Linked DNA regions of Homo sapiens: region 2 is linked to region 1. Evidence: promoter capture Hi-C in 16 types of primary human blood cells and fetal thymus (Javierre and others, 2016). All regions are on one chromosome and are shown on one strand. The core of a region is centred on a gene start or on the middle of the fragment in contact, and the rest is flanking DNA. Distances in the headings are between cores, read along the strand shown. Region 1 holds the start of COG1 (component of oligomeric golgi complex 1). Region 2 overlaps SLC39A11 (solute carrier family 39 member 11).

Region 1 (4,662 bases), core at 1,020-3,519:
TTTACATTTTTTTCTCGTCAAGTTTCCATGGATTTATTTCCTCGACCAGGTTGTAAGCTCCTTCAGAGCAGGAATTGGGGGACTTCTGTTTCTTTGTAATGTGAACGAAGAAGACACTCAAATTTTTGTAGGGTTAACCGAGAATAAACCAGATATAACAACTATGAAAATCAATACGTTTCTAAAATCAGGCATAATTCAAGTTAGCGTTTTAATAAACCCTGAAGCATGACTCAGTTACAGCAAAGGCTGGCCACCTAAGGGGACACGTGTACTAAATGTTAGCTTTGGGAGGGATGAGGTCACTCATTTCAAAAATATGCAAACTTATTTGCAACTTCCTATAGTTTTATTGTGTCAGTCCAGTCTACTGACCAGGATTTCTGTAAAGCTCAGATAGCATGAACAAGTTCCAAATTGGAGTTAGACTGTACTTTTCAATTTTTTCTTCTATGTCCCAGTAAGTTCTCCCAGGCTGTTAAAAACAACTAACTGTTTACCTTTTTCACCCTTCATGCCCTTTCACTTCGTTCATTGCTAGGTCTATATTCTTTAAGGGGCCGTGCGCGGTGGCTCTCGCGCCTGTAATCCCATCACTTTGGGAGGCCAAGGCAGGCAGATCACATGAGGTCAGGGGTTGGAGACCAGCCGGGCCAATATGGTGAAACCCCGTCTCTACTGAAAGTACAAAAATTAGTCGGACATGGTGGCAGGTGCCTGTAATCCCAGCTACGCGGGTGGCTGAGGCAGGAGAATCGCTTGAACCCGGGAGGCGGAGGTTGCAGTGAGCCGAGATCGCGCCACTGCACTCCAGCCTGGGTGACAGAGCGAGATCCTGTCTCAAAAAATAAAGAAATAAAAATTCTTTTTTTTTTTTTTTTTGAGACAGAGTCTCGCTCTGTGGCCCAGGCTGGAGTGCAGTGGCGCGATCTCGGCTCACTGCAAGCTCCGCCTCCCGGGTTCATGCCATTCTCCTGCCTCAGCCTCCCAGGTAGCTGGGACTACAGGCGCCGGCCACCACGCCTGGCTAATTTTGTGTATTTTTAGTAGAGACGGGGTTTCACCGTGTTAGCCAGGATGGTCTGGATCTCCTGACCTCGTGATCCACCCGCCTCGGCCTCCCAAAGTGCTGGGATTACAGGCGTGAGCCACCGCACCCGGCCAATAAAAATTCTTTAGGAACGCAAGCTGCAGCTCCAATATGAGGATGTGTTTGTTTACCTCCCATCCTTCCTCATTGTGTCTAATCAATAGCGTTTGGGGGGAAGAACACGGGATAAGGAGAACCTGAATGAAAAAAGCCTTAGTTCTGAAAATGAAAATGTTCAGCTATTAAAAGGTAAGGGCTTGGCCGGCTGTGGTGGCTCATGACTGTAATCCCAGCACTTTGGGAGACCCTGTCACATACATACATAAAGTTAAGGGCTTGATAGCTGGTACCCTCAACAACTCCCAAAGGGTAGAACAGCTATTTGGGGTTGTGGAAGTTATTCTTGGGGAGATAAGGGGAAGGTTGGGATGAGGAAGAAATGACTTGGAGTGCAGGTGTCAACATAGGGGAGAAACCTGAGGAAAAACAATGTCAGGACATGTTATATAGGTGAGCGTTGAACTGTCAAGACAGAAACTCCTGGCGTTTTCCGCTAAAATTGAAAGGAGCCCAGTGAGGTGTAGGAATCAAGGCCCGGAAGTCGGGGGAAAGCGCCTGAAGAAACTGTTGAATGGCATTTCCAGAACGGATCAGCAGCCGCATATGTGCAAGGAAGGCTGGCACTGTCCTCTGAGGGGGGCCCAAAGGGTGAGGGGCGGATAGGCTCCTGGCTAAGGAAGGTGAGGACTCGCGGGGTCTGGGACTGACAGAGGGGGGCGGGGTTGACCTGCAAGGCCAGGGGCTCCGGGACCCGCCTGCGGGTCGCAGGGTGGGGGCACGGGGACTGACCTGCTGGGCCCGCGGTGGCCGGGGCGCGGCCGAGCCGGCCTGGCGGAGGCGGGCGCAGTACTGGTCGGTGGCCTTCACGGCGTCCACTAGCCCCACGGCGCAGCGGCGCATCTGGCCGATGGTGTCGGCCGCCTCGATCAGGTCGCGGTACCGTTCGCCCACCATCTGCCGCAGCTCCTCCTTCTTGTGCTCGATCTCGGCCCGAACCTGGCGCTCCAGCCCGCGGATCTCCTCCGCTCCATGCGTCTCGAAAAGAGCCGCAGGGTCGCGCAGATCCAGCCGCTTCAGCGCGGGTGAGGTTGCCGCGGTGGCCATGGTGCACTCGTCAGCCCCCGGCGATCTACCTACGCCCTTTTAGTCCCGCCCCCTCCGCCATCTTCGTTGGGGGCGGAAGCGCTTCCGCCCCGCCGGGGGCCATGTTTGTTACCCGAGGGGGCGGGCGCGAGGGGGCGGGCGCGAGGGGGCGGGCGCGAGGGGGCGGGCGCGAGGGGGCGGGCGCGAGGGGGCGGGCGCGAGGGGGCGGGCGCGAGGGGGCGGGGGCGGGCGCGGGCGCGGGGGCGGGCGCGGTCCTGCGCGGGGTTTTCTTAAACGGAGCCGGCTGGGAAGTGAGGTCGCCAGAGAGGTGAGGTCGCCAGGTTGGCTGCGAAACTGTGGCTGAAGTCTTCCCTTTCCCTTAGGAGCAGAGCTTCTCTGTGGAGTTAGGTGTCGGGATCGGGCCCCGCGGACTGACGGCGTTGGCGCAGGCGCAGCCGCCGCTCTCCGCGCGCCTGGCGCCCGCGAGCAGACTCGGGCGCGCTCGCCGCCGCTGGGTCTCGGATCGCACCCCGCGTGCAGTTTTAGGAAGAGGGACATCCGCGCCCCTCGCTGTTCCCCGGGAAGAGCTACCACGCCGCCCCTGAAGGGGTTCTGAGCGCTTGTTTGGCGTCTGCTTTTCCTCTGCTGTTGATTCGTGTTGGAGGTTTTCCATTTCGTTTAAAACCGATGTTTAGCCCCTGAAGACGTTTTCCCTGCGAGAGCCTGACCTTGGTGGCCATGGGGGAGGAGGGCGGCGGGCTGGGCGGGAGAGGCTGGGACGCCCCGGGGAACGCAGCGCCAGACGGGTGGGCGCTCCTCACGTGGCCCAGGAATAGTAGAATCTGGAGATTGTGGCTTGTTTCTGCTAAGTCCCAGACCCTTCTTTTTTTTTTTTTCTGTTTTAATTTCTTTTGGAAGATTTCACCCACACCAGTGTCGACAAAATGATGCAATGTGCGCAGCGGCCATGCTGAGCCCCCAGCAACTCAGGGCCTACCCTGCATCCCTGCTCATTCCCTCTCCCACCCGCCACCTCCGGACGCACAGAATTTCAATCTGCAAATAAATGGTGCATTTATAATATTCCAGTTTAACCCGCAAGAGCCTTGCGGCGTAGGGAGTATCATTCTCACTTTACAGACTCATTTTACAGATGGGGAAACGGGGGCCCGGAGAGGCAAAGGGTTTTTTACTCAGTAAAAGTGCAGTTTTCAGAGCCTGTCCACGAGATTATCTCATTTTCTCGCACATCGGCCATGCCAGGTAGGTAGGAGTAATATTCCTAGTCCATTTATGAGGAAAAAAAAAAAAGAAACAAAAGCTTATTTACCTGCCCAAATTACATAGCTGATAGGTGACCCAGTGAGTATTTGGACGTCGATTTTTAAATTACTGGCTCGCGCTCTTTTCTACGTTTTCACATAATTTCCCACAGAGCACCCTCTGTTGGCAGGCCTGCAGTTTGCAGTCTCTAATCCCATTCTGCAAGGGACACTTACTGGTATTCGGCTGATAAGCATCCGCAGTATCTCCTTTCTGTGATTGGGGAATTCATCGCTATCTAGCAAAATCTTTTTTTCTGGCGCCCTTTATAGCTACGGTGCCAGCCTGCGGCCTGGGACTGGCACAGCAGGCACAAGCGCCTAGGACTTGGGTGAAGAGTTAGTGACATTAAGAAGCAGGCTGTAATCCCAGCACTTTGGGAGCCCAAGGCGTGTGGATCCCTTGAGCCCAGGAGTTCAAGACCAGCCTGGGCAACACGGCCAAACCCCGTCCTTACAAAAAAATACAAAAAAAGGGGCGCGCGCCGGGTGGCTCATGCCTGTAATCCCAGCACTTTGGGAGGCCGAGGCAGGCGGATCACATGAGGTCAGGAGTTCGAGACCAGCCTGGCCAACATGGTGATACCCTGTCTCTACTAAAAATACAAAAATTAGCTGGGCGTGGTGGCGCACATCTATAATCCCAGCTACTCGGGAGGCTGAGGCAGCAGACAGGAAGCTGAGGCAGGAGAATCACTTGAACCTGGGAGACGGAGGTTGCAGTGAGCCGAGATCGAGACACTGCACTCCAGCCTGAGCGACAGAGTGAGGCTCCGTCTCAAAAAAAAAAAGAAAAAGAAAATTAGCCGGGAGTAGTGGTGTGGGCCTGTGGACCTGTAGTCCCAGCCACTTGACAAGAGGCAAGTGAGGCAAGAGGATCACTTGAGCCTCTGGAGGTCGAGACTGCGTCAGTGAGCCATGATTGGGCCACTGCATTCCAGCCTAGACAACAGAACAAGACCCTGTCTCAAAAAAAAAAAAAAAAAAAAATCGCAGGTGACAGGGGCGATTGCATTTTGGTGGTGGCACAGGTATCACCGGCAACATCCACTCCCTAAGGACAGCAAGGGCAGTGAACTTAGCTCCAGCTCCCAGCTGCTAATGCTG
Region 2 (4,662 bases), core at 676-3,175, 350 kb after region 1:
TGCTGGATGTGGTGAGAAGGGATCCCTTCCTGGGTCCCGATTGAAGGTGGAGCCAATGGGATTTGCCGATGGATTGGATGTGGGATATGAGAGAAAGCGAGGAGCCAGGAGGGACCCGGAGGTTTCAGGGCTGCCCAGCTGCAGGGATGGAATTGCCATCAACTGAGACGAGGAAGGCTGCAGCTCCAGGGGCTTTAGGGGGACTATCAGGAATTTGTTTTTTGATTGTGAGGTTTGATTGCCATTAGACATTCAAATGGAGATACTGACTAGACAGCTGGATACATGAGTTTGGAGTTGGCTTGCAAAGTCTAGCTAGAGTTATAGATTTCTGAATCATTGGCCCATGAATGTTTTTTGTTTTTTTGTTTTTTGTTTTTGAGACAGAGTCTGCCCTGATGCCCAGGCTGGAGTGCAGTGGCGCAATTTTGGCTCACTGCAACCTCCACCTCCTGGGTTCAAGAGGTTCTCCTGCCTCGGCCTCTCAAGTGGTTGGGACTACAGGCGCATGCCACGACACCTGGCTACTTTTTGTATTTTTGGTTGAGGCAAGATTTTGCCATATTGGTCAGGCTGGTCTTGAACTCCTGGACTCAACTGATCCACCTGCCTTGGCCTCCCAAAGTGCTGGGATTACAGGCGTGAGCCACTGCGCCTGGTCCCTTGGCACATGAATGTTACTTAAACCCCTGACACTGGATGAAGCCACCAAGGGTCTAACTACAAATAGATGTGTCTCCAAAGACCCACTGTGGCTCATTCCTCAAGTCTTCAGCTCCTAATCCTGTCTAAAGAGAAGTGAACTCCCTCACCATCACTGTCAAGCAGCTTCATGTCTTTGATGAGGACCATTTTAAGAGCCTGTTTGGAGCCAACTTACCTTTGAAAAGGTCTCTTCTTTAACACTATCCTTTATAGTGTATTAAAAATTTAACTAGAGCTTTGACATTCCCTGAGACTCTGGGTTTTTAAGACAGACTTTTCACAATGACTAAATGGAGAATCGATTTTTTTTTTTGAAGTTTTTTGTCTTTGCTATTTCAGTTTAGTATGTCCTGAGGATGACATTTTGCTAAAAAAAATTTTTTTTTGGAGTAGAAGGAAAATGGAAGGCTTGTTAATAGTAGCCTATCTCCCGGAGGTATCCAGAGTGTGAGGCCACACCCGAAGGCATATGCACACGTCTGGGGCTCTTGGGTTAATATTTAATACACATGTGCAAGGTCAAATAGTTCTTAAGCTTCTGTGGTTCACAGTTGTCCTGTGAATCTGATAAGAGCTATACACCATCTCACAAGAGGATGTTGTACACATGTCTTAGTCTGTTCAGGCTGCCATTACAAAATGCCATACAATGGGTAGCTTAGAAACAACAGAAATTTATTTCTCGCAGTTCTGGAAGCTGGAAGCCTGAGATCGGGCTGCCAGCATGGTCGTGGTCAGGTTCTGGTGAGGGTCCTTCTCCGGGTTGCAGGTGACTGTCTTCTCGTTGTATCCTCACATGGTGGAAAGAGGGCACTCTCTGGAGTCTCATTTCATGAGGTTGTTAATCCCATTCATAAGAGCTCCATCTCACGACCTAATCACTTCCCCAAGTCCCCACCTCCTAATACCATTCATTCCCTAAGTCCCCACCATCCTAATAACAATACCATTGGGGATTAGGTTTCCAAATATGAATTCTGGGGAGACATAAACCTTGAGACCACAGCCACACACAATATTTTGCAGACAATTCTGGGTGTTTAGACTTTATGGAGTCTATCCACAACCCTAGAACAGGAAAGAACCCCTCCCCAGGCCGGGCGCGGTGGCTCACGGCCTGTAATCCCAGCACTTCGGGAGGCTGAGGCAGGCAGATCACGAGGTCAGGAGATAGAAACCATCCTGGCCAACATGATGACACCCCGTCTCTACTAAAAATATAAAAATTAGCTGGGCGTGGTGGCACGTGCCTGTAATCCCAGCTACTTGGGAGGCTGAGGCAGGAGGATCACTTGAACCCAGGAGGCAGAGGTTGCAGTGAGCCGAGATCGCACCATGGCACTCCAGCCTGGAGGCAGAGCAAGACTCCATCTCAGAAAAAAACAAATAAGCAAAAAACCCTCCCCTTTAGAGGACAAAGAAAAGTATAGTTGTGCAATTGAAATGTCTTAGGAAGAAATGGTAATGACTGATGCAGACCAGCAGATGCAGGCAGGCGCAGTAAAAAGAGCACTAAAAGGCAGACTCCAGAAACAGAGTGCAGACACCACCCGCCTCCTTCTAAGCTACTTCCGTGGCGCCTGCCTGGGTGCATCTGTGGGGGTGGTCTAGGGTGTTTGTGTCTGCTGCAGAAGGACACCCTGAGGAAACAACATGGTTTTTTAGAAAACCAACCCGAGACTGCAGCCTTTTGAGCATACTGTCTCTTGAAGTGCTGTCCATGCAGTATCATACAGATTGAAGGGCTCTGAGCCTTCCAAAGATTCCTGGCCCTTCTGTTTTTGAATGGCATTAAAAATCACCTAGCAATTGAGTTCCTACTAATCACTTATCATGAGTACCTTATGGTCTCAACAGTGAACTGCACCATTGCTTTGTATGGGAGAAAGTTAAATTGGAAGCTTAAAGAGATTCTAGGGGTTATCTCATTCAAACATTCATTCATTTGAAAATTTAGGGGATTGTGGTAAATTATTGTTATGGCTCCTTCTAGCCTTAGCATTGGATGATAACTGTGAAGAATCATAGAAATATTTATTATTAATTTCATTTATTTAACAAAGTTAATCACTCCTTCCTTTGTGCTGTCTTGCTGTATCCTTTATCTTCTGTTACCATAATTATCACTCTGACTTACAATTACCTGTTTGTGTGTTTTATTTATTTATTTATTTTTAATTTTTGTCAGTAACATAGGTATGTATATTTATGGGGCCATGAAATACATATGCGCGTGCGTGCACACACACACACACACACACACATAGTTTTTTGAGACAAGATCTCTCTCTGTCACTCAGGCTGGAGTGCAGTGGTGTGATCATGGCTCACTGCGGCCTCAACCTTGGGCTCAGTTGATCCTCCCACCTCAGCCTCCTGAGTAGCTGGGACTACAGGTGCATACCACCACACCCAGCTAATTTCTTTTTTTTTTTGTATTTTTTGTAGAGACAGGGTTTTGCCATGTTGCCTAGGCTAGTCTCGAACTCCTGGGCTCAATAGATTCTCCCGCCTTAGCCTCCCAAAGTGCTAGGATTACAGGTGTGAGCCACCTCGCCTGGCCTGCATGAAATATTTTGATACAGGTATGTAATGCATAACCCATCAACTTAAGCATTTATCCTCTGTGTTACCAACAATCCAGTTATACTTGTAGTTATTTTAAAATGTACAATTATTATATTATTGACTATAGCCACCCTGTTGTGCTGTCAACTACTAGGTCTGACTCATCTATTTTTTTTTGTACCTATTAACCATCACTACTTTCCCCCGACTCCCCGACTGCCCTTCCCAGCCTCTGGTAAACATCCTTCTCCTCTCTATCTCCATGAGTTCAATTGTTTTAATTTTTAGCTCCCACAAATAAGTGAGAACATGAGAAGTTTGTCTTTCCATGCCTGGCTTAGTTCACTTCACATAATAACCTCCAGTTCCATCCATGTTGTTGCAAATGACCGGATCTCATTCATTTATGTGGCTGAATAATACGCCATTGTGTGTATGTACCATATTTTCTTTATTCATTCAACTCTTGATGGATGCAATTACCTGTATTTAAACATGTTTATTTGCCCCTGATAGATGGAGCTTCTTGCAAGAAGTTCTATACTGCGTTCTTTTTGGGGGGCCCAATGTTATAACACATACTGAAGCTTTGATGTATTCAATATGTATTATATACTTGAGCACCTAGAAGAACTGGTGCATTGGGTACCTGCCCTCCATTCTAAGAGAGGAGGGGCTGTTTGAGAGTTAGGTGTCCTAATTTTTTATTTTTTATTTTTTGAGACGGAGTCTTGCTCTGTCACTCAGGCTGGAGTGCAGTGGCGCCATCTCAGCTCACTGCAAGCTCCGTCTCCCAGGTTCACACCATTCTCCTGCCTCAGCCTCGCCAGTAGCTGGGACTACAGGCGCCCCCCACCACGCCTGGCTAATTTTTTGTATTTTTAGTAGAGACGGGGTTTCACCGTGTTAGCCAGGATGGTCCTGATCTCCTGACCTTGTGATCTGCCTGCCTCGGCCTCCCAGAGTGCTAGGATTACGGGCATGAGCCACTGCACCCAGCCAATTTTCTTTCTTTTTGAGATGGAGTCTCGCTCTTGTCACCCAGGGTAGAGTGCAGTGGCGCGATCTCAGCTCACTGCAACCTCCGCCTCCTAGGTTCAAGCTTCTCCTGCCTCAGCCTCCTGAGTAGCTGGGATTACAGGCACCCACCACCACGCCCATCTAATTTTTGTACTTTTAGTAGAGGCGGGGTTTTGCCATGTTGGCCAGGCTGGTCTCAAACTCCTGACCTCAGGTGATCCGCCCACCTTGGCTTCCCAGAGTGCTGGGATTACAGGTGTGAGCCACCACTCCCAGCCGCCTAATTTTCTTTCTACATTGTCCAGGTGGGCCAAGGGAGGACATTGACTCATGTGGGTCCTGATGATACATTGGCAGACTCTTGCTGCC

What was found. Contacts are between HindIII fragments. The CHiCAGO score rates a contact against its expected background, and 5 or more counts as called.
Region 2: a fragment that was not itself captured here is called in contact with the fragment with the promoter of COG1 in region 1 in 1 of 17 cell types (M0 macrophages); the score reaches 5.8 in M0 macrophages.

What each region holds. Positions count from the first base shown.
Region 1 is chr17:73,190,662-73,195,323 of GRCh38, reverse strand. It overlaps COG1 (component of oligomeric golgi complex 1), which reads right to left and starts at 2,269. Exons shown (of 14, transcript NM_018714.3): 1 at 1,940-2,269. The coding sequence starts at 2,254. RefSeq lists a silencer at 1,778-1,987 and enhancers at 2,038-2,317, 2,948-2,997, 2,283-3,042. The HindIII fragment of the contact is 5,644 bases long and covers 1-3,556 here.
Region 2 is chr17:72,840,386-72,845,047 of GRCh38, reverse strand. The region is part of intron 6 of SLC39A11 (solute carrier family 39 member 11); the gene reads left to right. Among named protein-coding and RNA genes, the nearest start is that of LINC00511, 200 kb to the right of the region's middle. The HindIII fragment of the contact is 1,366 bases long and covers 1,243-2,608 here.